Regions from separate parts of the Homo sapiens genome. Here region 2 is linked to region 1. The links are contacts of gene promoters, found by promoter capture Hi-C in blood cells and fetal thymus (Javierre and others, 2016). All regions are on one chromosome and are shown on one strand. Each heading gives the region's core, a stretch centred on a gene start or on the middle of the fragment in contact. The rest is flanking DNA. Distances are from core to core; before and after follow the strand shown. Region 1 holds the start of TUBB2B (tubulin beta 2B class IIb). Region 2 holds the start of BPHL (biphenyl hydrolase like).

Region 1 (4,392 bases), core at 610-3,109:
TCCCGGCTCCACTCTGGCCTGCCAGAGGGAAAGAGAAATCTTAAGTCACCGGTGATTGTACTAAATACCTTACCTCAAACCCCTCAATATAGATCAGTGAGTCAATGCTCAGATAAGACTATTTCAGATTATCACCAAAATGGCCAAACGTTAAAATATTTGTTCATGAATATAATTATAAATAAGGAAGGCCAGGACACCAAGCTCTTAGCAGCTGAAAGGCAAACAATTTTACACTATATTAAAGCTAAGTTGGCACACCGCGGATGTTCTTCATGCTTTCCCTCTGGCAATCACACCTCTTCAGCCTCCACTGCCCAGCGTAAAATGAATCCCTCATGCTCTCAGCCACACCAGGCACTCACCAAACACGAAATTGTCTGGTCTGAAGATCTGGCCGAATGGTCCAGACCTAACCGAATCCATCGTGCCTGGCTCCAGATCCACGAGGATGGCCCGAGGAACATATTTGTTACCTGCAAGGAACAACAGTGACTTAGACCCTCAGGCAAGGACCTCTGCAGAGAAGGGCTTGGCGCCTGCTGCCATCATGCAGATGTTGCCCCAAACAAAGGGAGACCCACCATCAGGTTCTCAAAGGGCTCTGTTGGCATAAGGAAGCCCAATGAAATACTGCAGGGAAAGAGCGGGGATCCTAAACTGAATAGTCCACCCTCTCCCAGGGCCACACCCCTGGGGTCCCACGCAAGGGAAAGGGGAGAAGGTGGAAAAACTGAAGGGAGTGGGGGTGGGGCAAGGGTGATTACCAGTGGCTTCATTGTAGTAAACATTGATTCTCTCCAGCTGCAAATCACTGTCTCCATGGTAACTGCCAGTGGGGTCAATCCCATGCTCATCACTGATGACCTCCCAAAACTGAGACAGAAAGGCTGCATTTAGCCATGAACGATGCCCCCAGAAACGCCAAGGCTCACAATGAAATGTCCCCGACTCAGTTCCGACAACCCAACATTTCAGGAGCTTGAAGCTTTAAAGGGCGTCGTGACCCGGGCACAGCCGCGGGGCTTGTATTTTGCAGGTTCAGAAAGTTGAAACTGGGCGTTTCCCAGGCAAACAGCTGCCGCTCGCGGGGGGAGGTAGGGGTCGAGGGGGTAAGGACCAGCCAAAGCCGGGCAGTGGCGGAGCTTGGCGCACTGGTCGCAGCCCCAGGCTGCGGCAGGAGGCGAGGGCACAGGGACTGCAGCCCGCCAGGAGCGGGTGGGCGGGGAAAGAGGAACGCAAAGGAGCTAAAGGACCGCGGTTTTAGATTCAAAGCACGTCCTGAGACCGCAAGACAATCGCTCTCCTCCCCTCCCCCGGCAGCTCGACTCCGGTTCAAGCGAGTACAATTAATCCTCCTGGTGTCCCAGCCCCTCGCGCGGAGCGCCGCGCACAGCCTCGCGGACACACCCTCGTCTTCTCCAGGCACGCGTGCCTGCCAAGCAGCCAGCGCGGAGGGAGGCCGAGGGGGTGACGGGGACTCCAAATGAGTTACAGCAGAAAGAAAGAGAGGTGCCCCCTCCGTCCGCGAAAGTCACCTCCTAGCCCAGGCCACACTCGGCGGCACAAAGCGGCCAGGAAGGTCTGCATTTGGCGATCCCCAGGCCTTCCCAGGACCGCGCCTGGGGACCCCGAGGGGCTCTCGGCCCAGGTTCGCGCCCCCATTGGACCCCCTCCGCTGCGGCGCGCCCACCTTGGCGCCGATCTGGTTGCCGCACTGGCCCGCCTGGATGTGCACGATCTCACGCATGGTGCCTCGTCAGCGTCCTCCTGGTCCGGCGGCGTCTGGGTCTGTCCGTCCTCCCCTCACACACCCACTGCGGGGTCACCGGGAAGGCGCTCGGGAACCGACGGGCTGAGAGCGCCGGCCCCGCGGGCTCCGGCTTTTATGCAAGGAGGGTGGGGCGGCCGGCACAGGCCGCGCCCCCAGCCCGAGCCCCCCAGTCCCCTTCGCGCTGGCGCTCTCCAGGCCCGGCTGACGTAATGCTCCGAGCCCTAGGGACCGTCCGGGGGGCTGGACCACCGGCCCGCGGCCAATCAGAGCGGGCGTGCCGACCGGGAGAGGGGTGGGGGCTACCGGGAGTATGGTGGGGGCGTGCGCATTGTCTGGGGCTGTGGTGGGGGTCTGGGTATGGGGATATGGGGGAACAGTGAAGAAAAGGAGGGTGAGAGGGCGGCGAGGCGAGGGCCACCAGCGCGTCCTGACCGGGGTGGGGGCAGAGCTGGCACCGGATGGGAACGATGGAGGACTGGAGCATGTGGAGAAGCCGTCAGGTGCTCCAGTGCCGGCAGGTGGGAGGGCTGAGGTGGCACAGGCTGCTCCGCCACCTCGGACTGCGGCTCCTACTCGGCCACTGGCCAGAGTCCCTCCAGCCAACTGCCCCTGGTGAGACCACCGTCTTTTTCCTCAACCCTGGAGGCCAGCGACTGCCCAGGCGGCGCTCCGTCTCACAGAGGCCTGGGGGAGGACAGGTGGCCCCAGAAGGAAGTCGTGCTTGATGGCAACCGGGACACCTGCGGCCCATGAACACCAGCGCGGCCTCCGCCCCCGCCCCAGCGTGGGCCTGCTTTCTCCTTTGTCTGTCTTGGGCTGGTAGCTCCTCTCACTGCGCCGCAGCATCTAGGGGTGAAGCGACCTCGGAGCCCCTCAGCCCTGCCCGACCCTCTCCGGGAGTGCATAACGCCCCTGCTGGTACCCAGGAGCCCTCTGCCCCGGGGGTTGACTTTTGTTGCTCGCTAGTGATGGAGTGGGAGTGGCCGGTGGCGCTGCACTGACCGTCCGGAGGGCAGAAAGAGGGTGGGGTCCCGGGGGCGGGGCTGTCGGCGGAACAAAGGGCTCTCAGAAACGTGGGATACGCTGTGTAACCCAGTATTTAAAACCACACGACAGGCGCCCCACCCCCCCACCCCGCCCTCGGATTCAGTTCATCTATTGTCAAGTAAGAGGGTGGGTTCCAAGGGTGGCCCAAGCCCGAGTAACAAACTTTCTTATCTTCCATCGCGGCGACCTGGAGGTCCGAGGCTTCGTGCTGCGGTTGAAGGGTGGGGAATACGACTAAAAACTGCAGCCCAGCGCGCGCGAGACGACCCAAGACCCACGCGCACTCGCACGAGCGCGTGCACAGACTTGGAGCACAGACCCTCCCTTCAGATCCGCAGTCTCTAGGTACTGAGGCAGGAACTGGTCTCTTTGTTACTTTTCGCGCGCGCGTGTGTGTGTGTGTGTGTGAGAGAGAGAGAGAAAGAGAGAGAGAGAGAGACTAATCCTGCGTGCGTTTGAGGGCGGGAGGGGAAAGGGTGTCAGAAACGTTCACTGCACAACCTGTTCCCTGCAATTCGATGACTGAAGCGCGCCGCCCCACACTTCGGAAGGGCCGTTGGCGAGGTGACGTGACCTCTTTCATCCCCTGGCGAGAAAGGCCGAATGACCCGGGCGCACGCGGCGGAGCTCAGCCTGCAGCTGTTGAGCGAGACCCTCCCAGAACTATCAGCAAGCTGTCATCGCCTCCCTTTCCCGCTGTGGGGTGGAGGGTGGGGGGTTCAAGTCGATTCCAATGTACAAAGAGAAGTAGCGAGAACAAAAGCCCAGGCGCCCCCAAACATCCAGGGCGCCCAGACTGGAGCTCGCCGGCCGGTATTCCAGACCCGGCCGGCGTGCCCGGGTGAGGGTGGGGTCTACCGAGAGGCAGAGAGCAGCGGAGGGTCTGTCCACATGCCCTGCTCTCCCGGTACCAAGGTCTCGGGGCCTGACCTCCGAGTTTCTAATCCAGATCCTGCAGATGCCGAAACGTCGAGGGCTAGCAATTCCCAAGGTCATACAGCAAGTTGAGGACAGGGCTCGGACTGGAATCTCGTCTTTTGGGCACACCAGACCTCAGGGAAAGTGACCGCATCTCGGCCAAAAGGGCTGTGGCAGGTGTCAGCCTCGAGGTGGCGGCTCTGGTGGGACCAAGCTGCGCCGGAAGGAACAGAGCTAGGGCGGCACCCGCGCGGCGAGTGTAGACACACTCGGAGCGGTCACCCCCTCGCTGCGAGCTCCCAGGAGCAACCCTGATGCTCAGCGCTGGGGGGTGGGGTTGGGGGCCGCTCAGCTCCATGCTGAGTAACTTGAGCTGGCCGCCTGCCTCCTTCATCTAACCAATTCATTTCTCAGCTTCTGTTTCCGAGCCAAATCTCCATTCAGTGCCCGGGTGAAAACGCGTGTTCAAGATCATATAGATAGATGAAAAGACCCTTTCCTCTCAGGTTTCTTTTAAAGGGGTTGGTTTGGGATAGGATGAGGCTGGAAATCATCCTTCTGAAAGCCCAGAGTGCCCTTGGGGACACTTTTGGCCCAAGATCTGCTTTCCTTTCAAGCATTTTGCTCGAATTGTCCCCACACCCCTGCCCCTT
Region 2 (4,392 bases), core at 1,075-3,574, 110 kb before region 1:
CTTAGCCTCAGTTGCCTCATCTATAAATGGAGAGTGCAATAGCACAGAAGGCTAATGTGAAGATTAAAGAAATATGATATATCATAAGGTGCCTGGCACAAAAATGGCAGTTTTTTTAAACTGTACGATCTTGCTATATATAAAGAACTGGTTGTCAGGTATGTTACTTAAAAATAGTGACACCACGCTGGACGCGGTGGCACACACCTGTAATCCTAGCACTTTAGGAGGCTGAGGCGGGTGGATCACCTGAGGTCAGGAGTTTGAGACCAGCCTGGCCAACATGGCAAAACCTCGTCTCTACTAAAATTACAAAAATTAGCCGGGCATGGTGGCGGGTGCTTGTAATCTCAGCTACTCAGGAGGCTGAGGCAGGAGAATTGCTTGAACCTGCGAGGCAGAGGTTACAGTGAGCTGAGATTGCGCCATTGCACTCCAGCCTGGGCAACAAGACCAAAACTCCGTCTCAAAAAAAAAAAATTGTGACACCAATAACCTAAAACTCAGTGCTACCGTTTTTTATTAGCACAAGGGTAACTGGTGTTGAAACTGTACAGACAGCTATTTTTATCATTTCTGAGATGAAACCCCAATCAACATATCAGGAAAAAAGGAAATACTGACCTCACCAAAGATTTCTGAAAGTCAAACGATATTAAACTCAAACATTATATATGTCTCTTTCCTTTTATGCAGGAATTAATGTGATAGATTTATGTTGAGAGTAGAATATGAAAACTTTTGCATAGTCTGTATTTAGGCCAAAACTGCCTTTACTACTCAAGAAAGTCCAATGGGCCAGTGAGGACACTGCAGGTGACAGAAATTTCTATGAGTGTAACACCTACAAGCACTGTGCTCACAGGACTGACTGTTACACCAAAAAGGTCTCTTGGAGGAGAAGAAATGCAATATGCAAAGAAGCTGTTGTCTCCAATTATTCAAGCCAAGGCTACAACAGTAGCCACAAATCTGCCAGTTATTTCCAATTAAGGCAGAACGATTGACTTAAAAAGCAATAGTTGTTTTTTTTCTCCACTGAGCTTTCAATTAGATAATGTCTATAACCTTTATAAAGCTGCAATTATACAGCCAAAAGAAAAAAAATTAATTGTGGTAAAACATACATAAAACTTACCACTTAAACCACTTTTAGGTGTGTAGTTCAGTGGCAGTAAGTACACTCACAATGTAATGCAGGCATCACCAAAATCCATCCCCAGGACTTTTTCATCTCTCCAAACTGAAACTCTGTCCCCATGAAACACCAACTTTCCATTCCCCCTTCCACCAGCCCTCAACAACCCCCATTCTATTTTCTGTCCCTATAAGTTTGACTCCTCTAGGTACCTTATTATATAAGTGGAATCACACAGTATTTGTCTTTTTTTGACTGGCTTACCTCCCTCAGCATAGTGTCCTCCAGGTTCATCCATGTAGTAGCAAGTGTCAGAATTTCGTTCTTTGTTCAGGCTAAAAAATGTTCCCTTGCATGCACAGACAACATTTTGCTTATCCATGTATCTGTTTTTGGACACTTAAATTGCCTCCACCCTTTTGGCTATTGTGAATAGTGCCGCTGTCAACGTGAGTGTAAAAACATTTCTTCTTGTACACCCTGTTTTAAATTCTTTTGGGTTATATACCCAGAAAAGAAAATGCTGGATCATATAACTGATTTGTTGAGGAACCGCAGTATTGTTCATCACATGGCTGCACCATTTTACATTCCCAACAGCAATATACAAGGGCTTCAATTTCTCTACATCTTCACCAACACTAATTTCTGGGGGTTTTGCTAGTAGCCATCCTAATGGGCGTGAAGTGGTATAAACAAAATTTAGATCCCATCATCTCCGAAAAGCAAATACACTTCCTAGTACTAGTCAGTACTAAATAGGTGCACAGCGTTTAGAACTTTACTTGATCCAACATAGCAGCCTGCCTAGAGCCGGAGCCCCGCCCACTCCGGAGTCCCGCCTGGACGCCGACGCAGCGAGGGCGCTATGGCTGGCGGCCTCGCCTCCTGGAAAGGCCATGGTCGCTGAGGCGACGAGCGAGGGCGGGGCAGCGCCGACGGGGACACTCATCCCGGGAGCCAGAGCCAGCACCGAGAGGGGACGGTCTACGCGGGTGCCGGCGGTTCCAGGACTGCGAAACCACGAGCCGAGTTTCGGTCGCCCATGGGAAAGCACCCGGCAGGGCGTGGCTTCGGGGCGGGGCGGGCAGAGGGCGGAGCAGGATGGAGAGGCGAGGTGGGCGGAGCAGAGGGCGTGGCTTCGGGGCAGAGTGGGCCGGGTACCGCGCTTGGTCTTAGCGCATGCGCACTCCCGGCAGCTACGCGACCTGTGACCATGGTGGCTGTGCTGGGCGGCCGGGGCGTGTTGCGCCTGCGGCTGCTTCTCTCAGCGCTGAAGCCCGGGATCCACGTCCCACGGGCCGGACCCGCGGCCGCGTTCGGGTAATGGCGGCCACCTCGCCCCGGGGATCCCCAGCATCGGCGCGCTCGAGGGGCGGCGGGAGGGGCGCGTGCCGACAGCAGGAGTTCCCGGCGCGCGGGCACGGGGCGTGGGCGCGGCCTGGCTGCCCTGTCGCCCTTTGTGCCGCGAGACCCCGATCCTGGGGGCCAGCCGCGCTTGGTGCTCGAGCCCCTCGATCGTGCATGCGCCTCGGTCAGCCTCAGTTCAAGGAGTCTGGAGCCGTGGAGGCTTGGGCTATAGAGTGCAGCCCCTTCAGTGTGCAGACCAGAGAGACCCAGGGAGATACATTTGCCTGTAGTATGGACTCACCCGTGACGGAGCACGGACTAGAATCCCAACGCCCTCATTAGTCCATTGCTCTGTCCAGAGTCCACACTAAGGGCATAAGGACAATAATCTCTTCTTTCTCTTATGTCAGAAATCAGCCTGAGCCTGAGTACCGCTAAGGCTTTAATCACGGGTCCCGAGAGCCCTAAGTCTTCTCTTTGCTTGCTGATCTCGTACCTTAATGTGCAAAAGAATCACGTTGGGAACTGAAAATTCAGAATCCTGGGCCTCACTCCCAGAGGATCTGATCTACATGTGTGGAGATGCCCAGGAATCTGCTTTATTCTCTTTTGTCCTCCCACCTGTCCCCCCATTTCAGGTAAAACAATAACAAAAAAACTGGATTAATTTCTGACCTTCTGTCTTGAAAATGGATACTCTTGGTCCCAAGAGATACTGGGCAGAAATGTGGATAGAGCGGCATGAAGCTTGTTTTACTTTATTCTCTACATACATCCCTACACACATGCAAACACACGTATACAACGAACGTACACAGTGCATGTGCGCAGTTGACTGTTGATGGGCTACTTTCATAAAGTCAGTACTAGATAGGTACACAGCGTTTAGAACTGTACTTGATCCAACATAGAAACTTTTAGTTTGAAAACTTGATTTAGAAGGAGAAAAGAGGGCAAATCTGACCAGCTTTTAAAATTTCATATTGCAATTGACTAGCTCCTTTAATTTTAGAATTATTATAAGATGGTCAGGGCTATTTTGATAGATGGAAAAACATGTTAATGGCTACAGCTGTATAAATTAACAGTGAAAATGATTATTTTTTCCAGTTTCCTGTCTGCAGAAAGGCATCGAAATAAGTTACTGTGATTGTACCAATATAGTTCTTTTTTTTTTTGAGACTGACTCTCGCTCTTTTGCCCATGCTGGAGTGCAGTGTTGTGATCTCGCTCACTGCAACCTCTGCCTCCCAGGTTTAAGCGATTCTCGTGGCCTCAGCCTCCCGAGTAGCTGGGATTACAGGTACCTGCCACCATGCCCGGCTAATTTTTGTGTTTTTAGTAGAGATGGGGTTTCACCATGTTGGCCAAGCTGATCTCGAACTCTTGACCTCAAATGATCCACCTGCCTCAGCCTCCCAAAGTGCTGGGATTACAGGCGTGAGCCACCGCTCTCGGCCTACCAGTATAGTTCTGATAGGTTATTTAATGGTTGAGGAAGGCCCCATCCATCTAGTTGCATTGCAGATCATTCTTCCTAAAATATCTCTGAAGAAACAGGTTTTTCTGGATTTTGTACGGCCGTTTTATAAATGCAGCTGCAAGTTGATATGACATATAATCTGGGAAAACAAGCAGTGGTATTAGTTAATCCTGAAATGCAGCTGTAGCTCAGTGTCAGTAGGTAAAAGGATTCGTGTAAAAACTTTGCTTCAGAATAGCCAGTGCCCAACCTACAACTGACTTTTGTTCCAAAAACTTGTTTGTAAGTCTGCTGTTTGGAACTTTGACCCTTATTTCAAAATCCGTAAGGTGATTTATTCCTGGGTCAGGTCAAGAAAAGCCTTTTCTACCTGAAATTGGATATTATGTGCAGTTATAAATATTAATAATTCACATAACCT

Evidence for each region. Contacts are between HindIII fragments. The CHiCAGO score rates a contact against its expected background, and 5 or more counts as called.
Region 2: a contact is called between the fragment with the promoter of BPHL here and the fragment with the promoter of TUBB2B in region 1, in 1 of 17 cell types (activated CD4 T cells). The highest score is 5.3, in activated CD4 T cells.

Annotation. Positions count from the first base shown.
Region 1 is chr6:3,225,794-3,230,185 of GRCh38, forward strand. TUBB2B (tubulin beta 2B class IIb) reads right to left here and starts at 1,860. Exons shown (of 4, transcript NM_178012.5): 1 at 1,694-1,860; 2 at 768-876; 3 at 366-476; 4 at 1-18. The coding sequence starts at 1,750. RefSeq lists enhancers at 843-1,503, 1,504-2,162, 3,458-4,014 and a silencer at 1,767-2,056. The HindIII fragment of the contact is 13,618 bases long and covers 987-4,392 here.
Region 2 is chr6:3,116,387-3,120,778 of GRCh38, forward strand. BPHL (biphenyl hydrolase like) reads left to right here and starts at 2,325. Exons shown (of 7, transcript NM_004332.4): 1 at 2,325-2,461. The coding sequence starts at 2,355. It overlaps LOC107986556 (a long non-coding RNA gene), which reads right to left and starts at 2,261. Exons shown (of 4, transcript XR_001743928.3): 1 at 1,403-2,261. RefSeq lists an enhancer at 1,559-2,194 and a silencer at 2,233-2,622. The HindIII fragment of the contact is 8,418 bases long and covers 1-3,233 here.